2 separate regions of the Homo sapiens genome follow, and region 2 is linked to region 1. Evidence: promoter capture Hi-C in human tissues and cell types (Jung and others, 2019). All regions are on one chromosome and are shown on one strand. Each heading gives the region's core, a stretch centred on a gene start or on the middle of the fragment in contact. The rest is flanking DNA. Distances are from core to core; before and after follow the strand shown.

Evidence for each region. The method cuts DNA at HindIII sites, captures the fragments that hold promoters and counts their contacts. A contact is called where the count stands out against the background at its distance.
Region 2: a fragment that was not itself captured here is called in contact with the fragment with the promoter of LRRFIP1 in region 1 in 4 of the 25 tissues and cell types used here (IMR-90 fibroblasts, adrenal gland, mesendoderm cells and 1 more).

Annotation. Positions count from the first base shown.
Region 1 is chr2:237,624,310-237,630,185 of GRCh38, forward strand. LRRFIP1 (LRR binding FLII interacting protein 1) reads left to right here and starts at 3,278. Exons shown (of 24, transcript NM_001137550.2): 1 at 3,278-3,431. The coding sequence starts at 3,336. The HindIII fragment of the contact is 12,440 bases long and covers 1-5,876 here.
Region 2 is chr2:237,474,937-237,480,812 of GRCh38, forward strand. No RefSeq gene overlaps it. Among named protein-coding and RNA genes, the nearest start is that of MLPH, 9.4 kb to the right of the region's middle. RefSeq lists silencers at 251-660, 681-760. The HindIII fragment of the contact is 6,464 bases long and covers 1-5,876 here.

The DNA of each region.
Region 1 (5,876 bases), core at 2,028-4,527:
TCCTGAACCAAGGCAAACTTGCGCTGGGGACGGCGCCGCTGTGTGGTTTCCCTTGCCAAGGCTTCCCTGGCTGCCTCCACTTTCTCGTGGAGGCTTCCTGAAGGTGGCATCTGTATTTTTGTGAAGGGACTTGGTACCAGGCTTGGAGATGAACATGTTAATTCTCTGGCCCTGGACATCAGATCTGTGATATAGTTTCTCAATTTCCTGCTCTGAAGTAAGCCCTGGTGGGTAGTGTCACCATCTGGAATAGGAAAAGGGCTAGATGGGAGGGGTCAGTAGTGCTGGTGGCAGAGGCCAGTCTTCTCAGTGGAAACAGGCTCATGCACTTCCACGCAGGGAGGGCCGACGGTCAAGGGTGGAGGAAAAGCCACAATTTTTCGGTGAACCCATGGATCAGCATGATGGAGTCTTGCAGGTCTTTATCTTCCTCCAGGAGGCACCCCAAGCACGGAGAAGACCCACCAAGCTGCCTGATACCTCTGTCTAGCTCCCCTCTGCCCAGACAGGAACTGCTGTTCACCATTCATTCCAGACCTGGGCCTTTGAGGACAGGAGCTGTAAGGATGATTGATCGATTGCCTGTGTGTGAAGCCCTGGAAGGGCTCTTGCCTAGAATACTGTCCCTACCCTGACAAGGTAGAGGCCATGGTCTGGATGGCGGTGGCCCCCCCATTCATATGTCAAAACCTAACCCTCAATGCAAGGTGGGGCCTGCAGGTGACCAGGTCCTGAAGCAGAGACCTCATGAACGCGATGAGTGCCCTTACACAAAAGCCTGGAGGGAGCCCGTCTTCCACCATGAGATGACACACAGAAGGCACCATCTGTGAGGAATGGGCCTCAACCAGACACTGATTCTGCTGGAGGCTTGATGCTGGACTTCCCAGCCTCCACAGCTGTGAACAATACATTTCCGTGGTTTTATAAATGACCCTGTCTAAGGCGTTCTGTTACAGCAGCACAAAGGAACTAAGACAGTGGGCACCCGTATTTCCATTTAGAGGCGGAAACTGACTCTGAAGTGAGAACCGGTCCACTCTGAGAGCACATCGCCAGGGGAAGAGGACTGTAGCCAGGAAGTTGTTATGTCATGGGGTCATGGGAGGACCCAGCAATGTTGTTTCTGATGATTTCTGAAAGGCGGCTCTTTTCTGGAAGTGGACAGATGATGGGGGAGGGGCAGGAAGCTGAATTCACCACAGTGTCCGAGAACACTGTCTACCAGCGGGAGCTGTTCAGACACACCTCTGGCCAGTCCCCACGGCAGTGAATCTCCTGTCTCTGGACAACAATCCAACAGGGAAAGTGGGGAGGAGGGTTGGGAACTGAACTCTGTTCCACAAGTTCAACCACTGCACTCCACTAAGCAACTGGCACAGCCAGTCCCTGGTGAAGGCTTAAAGATGAGGAAGATGGGGTCAGCGCCTGCCCTCCTGGCCTCAACACATCAGGATGGAGGATTTAGGTGTTAGCAAAAAGTGGCTCAAAGTTCCAATGAAGGACAGGGAGCAAAGGGAGACTTCTTTTAGAAAGGAGACGTTGGAACTTGGATATGGCTTTAGTTAAGGAGCTCCAGGCATCTCAAGTCAGCCCTGAGAGGCAGCAGCCGTGTCTGCCTCTCGGACAGCTATGCCCCAGCCTCCAGCTCAGCAGCTGGCAGGCAGCAGGTGTGGGTGCAGGAATGAGTGAACTCATGGGGACCAGCCTCGGCAAAGACGCACAGTCCCCACAGTGCCCCAGGGGCTGGGAAACAGTGAGCAGCCACCAGCAAGACCAAGGCAGTGCAAGTGGCCACGGCTCAAGGTTTCCCCCAAGGAGGACTATGTCACTTAAGGAGTATGGCCTCTGAAGTAATGTAAATATGGCCTGGAAGATTCAGTCAACACCTATTTCCTTAGTGCCTACAATGTGCAGGTGCAGTTTCTGCTCCCGGAGTTCAGTCATGAACAATGCCACAGTCAGCCCTGCCAACCCACCTGCGTCAGCTCAGGCACCCAGAGCAATGTCACCTGGATCTGCCCTCCCTCCCATGTCACTGGACTCGCTGTCTTTTCCCTGCAATGAAACCTCCAACAGCTTTCCCTGCCACTGTGGGTGGAAGGGCCCTCTTCCTCTTCCCACCTTCATACAGCTTCCAGGCCACCTCCTTAAGAATCCAAAGCAATCTGGTCACACCACTTGGTGGGAAATACACCGAAATGTTAACTGTCCTTATCACTGGGGGAAAAAAATCACAGGTGACTTCAGTACAGCCTCCTCTCCTCTACCATCACTACCCTCCCTCCCATCCTTCCCCAGGTCCAGCCACACTGAAGTTCTCCCCATACCCCAAACACACCAGTAACTTTCCCACCCGGTGCTCCTGCCGTGCCCTAGGCAGGGGCTTTTAACCCCTACCTAATCCTCCGATTTGCTTTACTTTTAAATCCACCTCTGGAGCATAGACTGTGAGCTTCAGAGAGCACAGGTAAGTTCATTACTTTTTCAACAACTAGGAGAGAGCTGCGACGCACCTGCCCCGATCCTAGAGGCTGGGGACCCACCAGAGAAGTGACAAGTCCTTGATCTCAGGGGGCAGACAGCGGGGAGAAGGATGGATGCTAGCACGGAGAACACGCGTGTAAAGACAGAAACGCACACATCCACACCATGCCGCTGTGAAGCCGGCGCCCAGGAGGCTGGCCAAGGTCACAGGAGCGGCGGTGGCGGGCGGATCCGAGCACCTCTCGGCCTGACCCCAGAGCCTAGCTCTCACCCCGGCGAGGGACTTCCACCCCGACTCACCGCGGAATGGGGAGCGCCAGGCTGAACCAAATCCTGTGCTCACCCCTCCGTGCAAACCCCTCAAGGCAACTCAGGCCTCTGAAAGCCTTCCTACCCCCCCGCTCTCCGCTCAGGTCCCCACTCAACCGGTGCCCACCGCCCTGGCGCGCGTCGCTCCGCGATTACCGGCCCGCCAAACAGTCCCCGCAAAGTCCACCCTCCGGGGCTCCCGGTCCCTCAGGTCCCGCGTGCCCGGCCCTGGGCATCCGCAGCGTCCCCGTGGTATCGGACCCCCATCGTCCCTGACACCTGGCGTCTCCGCCCCCCGCCCCCGTCCCCCGCCCCGCCGTCCCTGGCCCCTGCAGTCCCTGGCCCGCGCTGCGGACCTCCGGCTCTGGCTTCCCCCGGGTCCCCGCGGCCCCCGTCCCCCCGCGTCCCCGCGTCCCCGGCCCAGCGCCCGCTGACGCCATGACGCCGCGGCGGAGGGAGGGGCCGGGGCCGGGGCCGGGCCGGGGCGGCGCGAGCGGCTGGAGCAACGGGCCCCGCGGCAGCTGCGGGCGACGCGGTCGATGGACATGGGCACCCAGGGATCGGGGCGCAAGCGGCTCCCCAACCGGGAGCGGCTCACGGCGGAGGACGACGCGCTCAACCAGATCGCGCGGGAGGTGAGCGCTCCGGGAGGGCAGCCGGGGGGCGCCGGGCGGGCGCGGGGGCCGGACGGCTGTCAGGGTCTCTCCGGCGTCCGTCTGTCCCGCTGTGCGTCTGTGCCACTGCGCGTCCGGCTCCAGGCGGGTGGGCCGGGCAGGCGCGCGCCGGGGCGCTGATCCCCAGGCGCTGCGCCCCGGCCCCGATCTCCGAGGCCTGCGGACCCCGCACCCGTTCTCCAGCCCCGGGCCCAGCCCGCGACGCTGCGCGCCCTCCCCCACCCCGGCCACCGTCGGCCGCTGCGCCCTCGGGAGAGGAGCCGGGCGCCGCCAGCGCGCGAGGTGGCCCGGGCTGGCCGGGTGGGGGCGAGCGCCCCGCTTTGTTGTGCGGCATGGGAGGAGGCGGGGGCTTAGGCCCGACCTGGAGGCAGTGGACGGTCGCCGGAGGCCACATGGCCCTGCTGAAATGGCCGAGTCGCTCAGGTGACCATTTGTCATCCATCCATCGATGTCACTCAAGGTGCAGCTCAGAGATGAACTTGGGGATCACTGTGATTTTTCTTTCAGGACTGAGCCTGGAAACGGGTCCAGGCACACTGAAACGTCTTCATTAAAGTTTCCTGGACAGAGTTTATTGTAACTAAGATCATGTTTGGTGATGAACTTTACCTGTGACAAATTGAAGGCGCACTAGAATGGGTATTTGTACAAATGCCTTTTTTTTTTTCCTTCCGCAAGGATTCTACCTTAAGGCTAAAGAATGTACATGACATCCAGAAAGCCGTACAGGGACAGAGAGCAGCAGCTTGGGAAAAGGGGAGCCAATAGGTTGCGGCCCCAGGGGGACAAAGGAAGCTTAATTTTTGACTGTGTTCCCTTTGTACCATTTGAACTGTGTGCCAGGTGGGTGTATGAATGCAAAGAAAGTCTCTGCCTTGTAACCCGCCTTACAGGTTCTTTTCCGTGTTGGCTTTTCCACATGTGATTCTTCCCACAGGAAACACCTCCAAGCCATTTGGACTGTGGTGTCTGGCTGTATCCGTCAGATATTCTGGGGGATCTACTCTGTAACCAATCCTTAGGTGTTTGTAGTTGTAAATACCTGATTTTGCTCTTACGGACATGTGGCAGTCACTCAGTATTTGTTGACTACTGAGTGAATAAAGACTTCTGTTTTTCTCTGTATGATACAGAAAAGGGCTTTCCAGGCAAACCCTTATTCATTCCTGGAAGCCCACTGTGACCTCCAGGAGACCTTCCAGACTCAGCCCTCTCACATCGCACCAGGCCTAAGTCTCCCTGGCTCCACGGCCCTCCATGGCATGCCCGCGCCTGGCATGGCAGTCAGGATACCTTATCATTATTTGTCCACCTGTAGAAGGTGACACCCAGACAGGAAATATCTTACTTTTGTATCCCAAGAGCTCAGCACAGAGCCAGGCACATACTAGGTGTTTGTCTATGTCTGTTACATTAATTAATAAACAAAAGAAGTACAAGGCATTTAAAGGACCTTTGGCTAAATATAGACATTTGCTAAATATAGTAGCTTGAGTATAACTCCCTCCTGTGAAGACAGTCACTTATGTATGCATTTGACCACAGTGCCTTACAAGTGTTCCCTGCAAGGGCCAGAGGTGGCCAGTGAATCGCAAGCCTTGTCTTGATGTCAGTGGTTATGGGGCAGAAGAATGAGAAGAATGAAAATTTCCAGAGTTTGCCTTTTATCCACTGGTGTTTCTTTCTTCTTTTTTTTTTTTTTTTTTTTTTTTAACACAGTCTCACTCTGTTGCCCAGGCTGGAGTACAGTGGTATGATCTCGGCTCACTGCAACCTCCACCTCCCAGGCTCAAGAGATCCTCCTGCCTCAGCCTCACCAGTAGCTGGGATTACAGGCACGCACCACCACACCCGGCTAATTTTTGTATTTTTAATAGAGACGGGGTTTCACCGTGTTGGCCAGGCTGGTCTCAAACTCCTGGCCTCAAGTGATCTTCCCGCCTTGGCCTCTCAAAGTGCTGGGATTACAGGCGTAAGCCACTGCGCCCAGCCTATCTGCTGGTTTTTATAAAATAGATTGAAAAGGAAGGCAAGGGAACACTCCTTGGGTTGAGAGCCCTGAGGTCCTCCCTCCCACCGAGGGAGATGCAGTTGGAGTTACAGAGATAGACTTGTGAGTCAGAGCTGGGCTTTCAAATGACATAGTTCTTAGCCAGCTGTGCCATCCTAGGAAGGTGAGTTACTCACTCTTCTCTGGGCCTCTGTTTTCTCGTCTCTAAAATGGAGAAGAAGAAACCTCCCCTGGCTGTCAGAATTAAAGAAAGTGGGTAGCAATGTAAAGTATGTAACTAGGCGGTGGGTAAATATGAGAGCTTCTTACACGCCCCTCCCGGTAAAACCCAGCCGTAGGTGCAGCTGTTACTAGTGCTGAGTAGCACAGATTGATAGGGTTGGAGGGAGCAGGTG
Region 2 (5,876 bases), core at 1,589-4,088, 150 kb before region 1:
TGTTGGATGGAGGGGCCCAGCGCTGGATTCCCACAACCACTTATTTATGGCTTAGTGTGGTTTGACTTTGAATCCCACAAAAGGGCGGGGAGGAGAGCGGCCCCACGGCTGCGTAGCGTTCGGGGTAAAGGTCCTAGTGGCCACTGATTCCCGGCAGCCGCTTGCTGTAACGAGGGGCTCCCGGCAACATGACGTGGGGCTGGGGGGCTCCATTTCCAAGGAAACAATGCGTGGGCGCGGGGCTCCGAGGCCCCGGGGTCCCCGGGAAGGGCTGGAGGGCCGGGGGCGCACATCTCGGGTCTCGGGGTCCGGGGACGGCAGACGCGGGGGCGCGCGGAACTGCGGCCGGGGCAGTAATCACCCCAGGGCCGCCCAGGCCGCGCCCAGAATGGCTCCGAGGCGGGGCCGGGCCGCGGGGGGCGGACGGAAGGGCCGGGGCGGCGCGGGGAGGACCCTCCCGAAGCCCAGCCGGGGCCCTGAGCTCAGAAGCCTGGGAAACGGAGGCCACGCCGGGCAGGAGCCGAGCTCGGTTTCACCGCCCCCAGCGGACCGACCGCCCCGCCTCCCAGGACCCCGAGACCCCGGACCCCGGCCCGCCCTACAAGCAGGAGCTTTGGCGGCGCGCCCGGCTGCAGCCGTCGGCCTCTGTCGCCCCCTCCCGGAGCGGAGGAGTCACGGCGGGAAACAGCCCGAAGCCGGCGGGGCCCCGAGGGGGTCCGCGCTGCCTGCCCGGGGACCCCTTTTCTTGGCAGAGAGGATACTGACATCGGTCTGGAGGCCGTACGTCAGTCCCGGGGATGTCGGGATCAGCCTTGGAGGATGCCCTCGATCTTTATCCTTTCCTATGTCCCCAGTCCCTGGCAAAAGGTAGTAGACCCAGGGGAAGGATGCAGGAAGCGAGGAAAGGAATTCCCATGCCATGAGCACCATCCTAGAGGTGTTGACACACAAACACGCGCGTGCACACAAATCCTCTAAGGTAACCACAACAACAGAACCTATGAGCCATTTGTGAATACGCCGGCACTCGGAAGTGCTGTGGACACACTCCTACTCCACCCCTGACTCACTGCGCCTGCCTCTCAGACAAGGACCCATGCCTCCCTTCAGTCCTCTCTGAAGTGGGGACCGTACTGGCATCTGCCTCATTTAGTAGCTGTGAGGATTAAATGTGGTTGAACCCGTAAACTCGCTTGAACAGCACCTGGCATTGAAAGGATTGTAGCTGGCACCCTCCTCCTCATCTTCCTCATTCAATCAGTTAGGAATGCATTCAGCTGCAAGCTCAGGAAACGCAACCGACAGTTGCCTAGATGTGCAGGTGTGTTTTTCTCCCATAACAAGGAGTTCAGAAGTCGCCTGTCAGCCTGGGAGCACAGCTCAGCGATGCGTCAGGACACTGGGCTTTCTTTCCATCCCCAATCCTCACCATCCTATTGCTGGTCTCCTCCTGGTTGCCAGATACTTGCTGTAGCTGCAGATCTCAGATTCAAGATCCAGGCAGGAAGAAGGGAGAAAGGACAGGAGGTAAAGGGCTTTCTCCTAGTAAGGGTTTCCTGTTTATTCTGGAAGGGACAGGAACCTCTTGCACTTCGATTGTCCAGAAGTGTCCATGCAGGTTATCTTCACTGCAAGGGAGGCTGGAAAATGCCTATTTTTAGTTGAAGTCCTTGCTCCTCTACCTGGAGTTAGGGTTCTGTTAGCATACGAGGGACATGGTTATTGAGTAGACAACTAACGGGACCTGCCAGTGTGCTGTTGCATGGTCTACCTAACCTCCACTCTGGAGACAGAGAAATCAGTGCCCAGTAACGCTGGAAATCTTGCCCAAGGTCACACAGCTAGTGGGTGTGACATCCCAGTCTCCTGATTCTAAGTATTAATGTTCTGTAAATCAATGACTTGACATTGATTGTTGAGGCATTTTTATGGCATTGGTTTTGAAGCACTGATGTTAATTTATGAAGCGTATTTATAATAACTGCTTTAAAATTCTTACCAGATAATTCTACCATCTGATGCATCAAAGTATCAACATCTATTTATTGTCTTTTCTCACTCGGGTGGTTTTTTTCTGGTTCTTGGTATGACAAGTGGGTTTGTATTATATTCTGGTCATTTGGTTATTATGTTCAAACATAATAAAAGATTATTACAAAACATTAAAGAATATCTCCTGTTGTAGATACTGGTTGCAGACATCTCTGACACCCAGTCTAGGCTACATGGGAGATAAAAAGAAAAGTCTAAGGAACCCACCATATTATCTTTCCTCCAGTCCTGAGGTCTCTGGCCAGTCTACCTTCTTCTACCCAACTTTCAGAGTCCTTTTATCATTGTCTGTTAAAGAATTTCCATGGTATTTAGTTTTTAGAAGGGAGGAGTAGGGAAAAGTGAGTCTACTCATTTTGTTTCAGAACCAAAATCCTAAACCCTTTTCAATAGCACATTCCAACCTACCTCTCACGAACTCCCACTAAATACCCCAAATCTACGCCAGCTCCAAGGGATTGTTTGGTCTTCTCAGGGGATGGTGCCATGTAAAGAGCTCAGCATCAGTCAGATATCCAGCAACAGAAGTAGCTAGATCAGGCTTGGTGAGATAGAGCCCACGTAGTCGGACCATATGGCCTCCCTCCTGGTCCCCTGGCATGAACATTGAGGTGACCAAGGACACAGTCTGACTCCATAGGGTAAATGACCCAGTATACCCATTCATTCAGTGTCCTTTTTGTACTAGGTGGCCTCTGGTAAGCATTGACATGAGATAGAAGATTCACATATGGCGCCTATTCCCAAGATCCCTGCACATACCTCTCTGTCTCCAGTCTTTCAACCTTATTCTCTTCCAGTTCCCTGAACAACTAGAGAAGCTTGCATTAATACCTGGACCTGCTACAGAATTTTCTCACGCTCTAAGCGTCACTCAAACCTGCCAGCCTTCCAAATCACTTCCCAAATGGATTGCAGCAGTATTCCCAAGTGAGCCATGTGCTGCCTCCAACATCCAAAGTTCCACCTAGTGCTATGTCTCTGTCCTTGTCATAGCGCCTGCAAAGAGAATAATTTGCCCTATACTTTTGAAGGTATGTCCCAGCAGACTCTACATCTTTAGTCCCCTAAGAACCTAGCCTAAGTTTTATATCCCTGGAACATCATAAGATTGGCCTCCCAATGCACATATGTCTTACCAGAGTATTCAGCATCTTTCTACTCTCCTTTTCACCAGTTCTAATCTGGAAAATATCACCATATGTTGCACCAATGTGCTTAAGGTTCCTGAGGATTATATTGTGACAGTAATCAGAGATTTGATATAGCCCTGGGACAGACAATAGAGAGAAGGTGTACTGTTGTCCTTCCCACGTAAAAGCTGTTTCAGATCTTTTCTGATGACAGCGTGATGGCTCCCCTGACTAATGTCAGCTCAGAATCTGTATCCAATCACCCTCCAAAGTATGACTGTTTCCCTTTCCCCTATGTACAGTTATCCTGGTAAATAACCATGGGCCCTTTGGGGAAAACAATGTATAATATTTATGGTATATATTGTAGTGACACTGTAAAGTCCTTCCTCGAAGGGACCTTGCTTCTCCTTTAGTCGATGGGGTCTAGGTCTATAAAAACTGGTTTAGATATGGAAACTGAATGAGGGATTGTGATTTTTCATTGCAGCATCTGATATCAGCCTTCCGTTCACCAGTCCTTGAATTATCTGTGTGCACAATCAACCAGTACCCTAATTGTCTGCTAATTTCTTGAGCCCCAAGGAATACCATAGTCTACTAGCCATCCCATAGACACTTATGTTTGGTTGCTTTTCTGGATTTTTTACCATTACAGAAATTCTGTCCACCCTACCTCTGATAGTTGAGGATCTCTATCTGAACTCTTCTATTTCAGAATCCCAGCAACCCCCATGACACTACAGAGTGTAGTTCCATGGAGTAACTTCCTACTGTTAATACCAGCTTCAGAGAACAGCCAGTATTGAGTTGCCAAAAGATGCAGACACTCCCCACACTGGTATATTTCTTATTGCTTTGGTGAAGAAAGTGTCCTCTGGGCCCTCCCAGGAAACACAGTCAAATGATAGAGTCTTTGATCTTACATAATAAATCCATTCTCACATTTCTACCTCCCTAAGCCTTCTAAGTTCCTACTCAATACTCTGCCAAGGCAAGCATAACATCTACACCTCATTTACATCATGCCCAAGCTTCGCAGTGCCATCTCAGCAGTGTATTTGAATGATTTCCAAGTATCCTTGCCAAGAAGTCAAATTCTAAGACATAGACAAGTTCCTCCAAATCAACAAACTGAATTCAATATCTCCGTGGCTTATTCAGACACATTTCTCTCTGTCGCTTGGTGACATATATTAGCCAAGACTTGCAGTTATGTTCACTAGATGCTGTTTATTCCTAGAAAAGAAACTTTATTTTCCCACTTGGGCTATACTGGGACCTGGCCCTAGTTATTTGTGTAGAGGAAATAAGAAGAGATGGAGACAGATCTTGAGAAGGACAAGCATCACATTGGAAGTCAACCATCTCAGGTGAAGACTCTGCACAGTATCCAGGTATCAGCATCCTTGGGAAAAGGGAAAGGGCTATTCCCAAGAGGGTTCTTGGGAATCTAGGTGTTCAAGCTTAGACTCATCTATCCAAATGTCCTCCTCCCAGGTTACATGATTCTACCACCCTATCAGTGCCCTGACTTAAGCACAGAAAACATATTCAGGGTGTTCCCTTTGTATTTCTGGTATAGATTTGCAGGATGTCAATACAAAACGCTTAGTTAAATTTGAATTTGAGATAAGCAACAAATAATATTTTAGTGTAAGCAAGTATGCCCCATGCAATATTTAGAACATACTTATACTAAAAGTTATTCCGTGTTTATCTGAAATTCAAATTTAACTGGAAAGCCTACATTTCATCTGGAAACCTTCCTCTTGGCACCCTTACAATCAAATCCTGGCTCTGATTTTCAGCACAGTCTGCACTAAGTTGGCAGGAGATGCGGATTTCTTTAAACACCGCCACAGATGCCTTCTGGCTCTCACAGTATGCCCTGGGGAGATAGACCTGAGCCTGTCATTCCGTTTCCCAAGTATGTGTTTAGTTGTTATGACAGTTTTTAAATAATTTTAAATACCTGAAAATTCTAACCAAGTATTTTCAGAACCTGAAATATGTTTACAAACCCTGCTTCAAAACCAGTGACCTAGCCCAGCAACCTGAGCAGGTAGGATTTGAGCCTGTCTTGAGGGTTAACCTTGGATAACTGTAGGAGAAAATGAGAAGGCACAAAACACAGCCTGACATTGCATTTCCACCCAGAACTGAAGGCACACGTGCTCCCAGGAATAGGTGGACTCATTTGGATTTGTGGGGTCAGAAAGCCATGGAAGATAGGGCTGGAAATTAATTGGGTTTGGAGTTCAGGTGGAGGCAAGCTTGGAAAACTGTAGTTCACAGAAGGGCAAGACTGAGGTGAGTATGGGGAATGGGAAGGTGAAGGTGAGGATTCACGGGTTAGGAATTGGCTCTAGGTATATTACTAGTTGGTAATGGGCTTTGAATCTGGCCATGAGTGAGGGGGAGGCCTAGGGGCGGTGATACTGCTGGATTCCTGCTGCTGGCTCTGGGGTGGTTTCAGCCAAGCCCTGTGCTGACATCAGACCAACCTGAGAGGTGCAGGCGGTAGCAGCTCGAGCGAGAGATCTTGTAACAGCTTTCACTGTGGGGAGGACATTAGCGTTACTGCAAATATTCTGCAACATTCATACAAGAGTTTAACGTGAGATATGAAGTGTGGCTTGTGTGTTGAAACTGAAATTAGGCCATCGCTATGAATTATGGAAGTGGAGA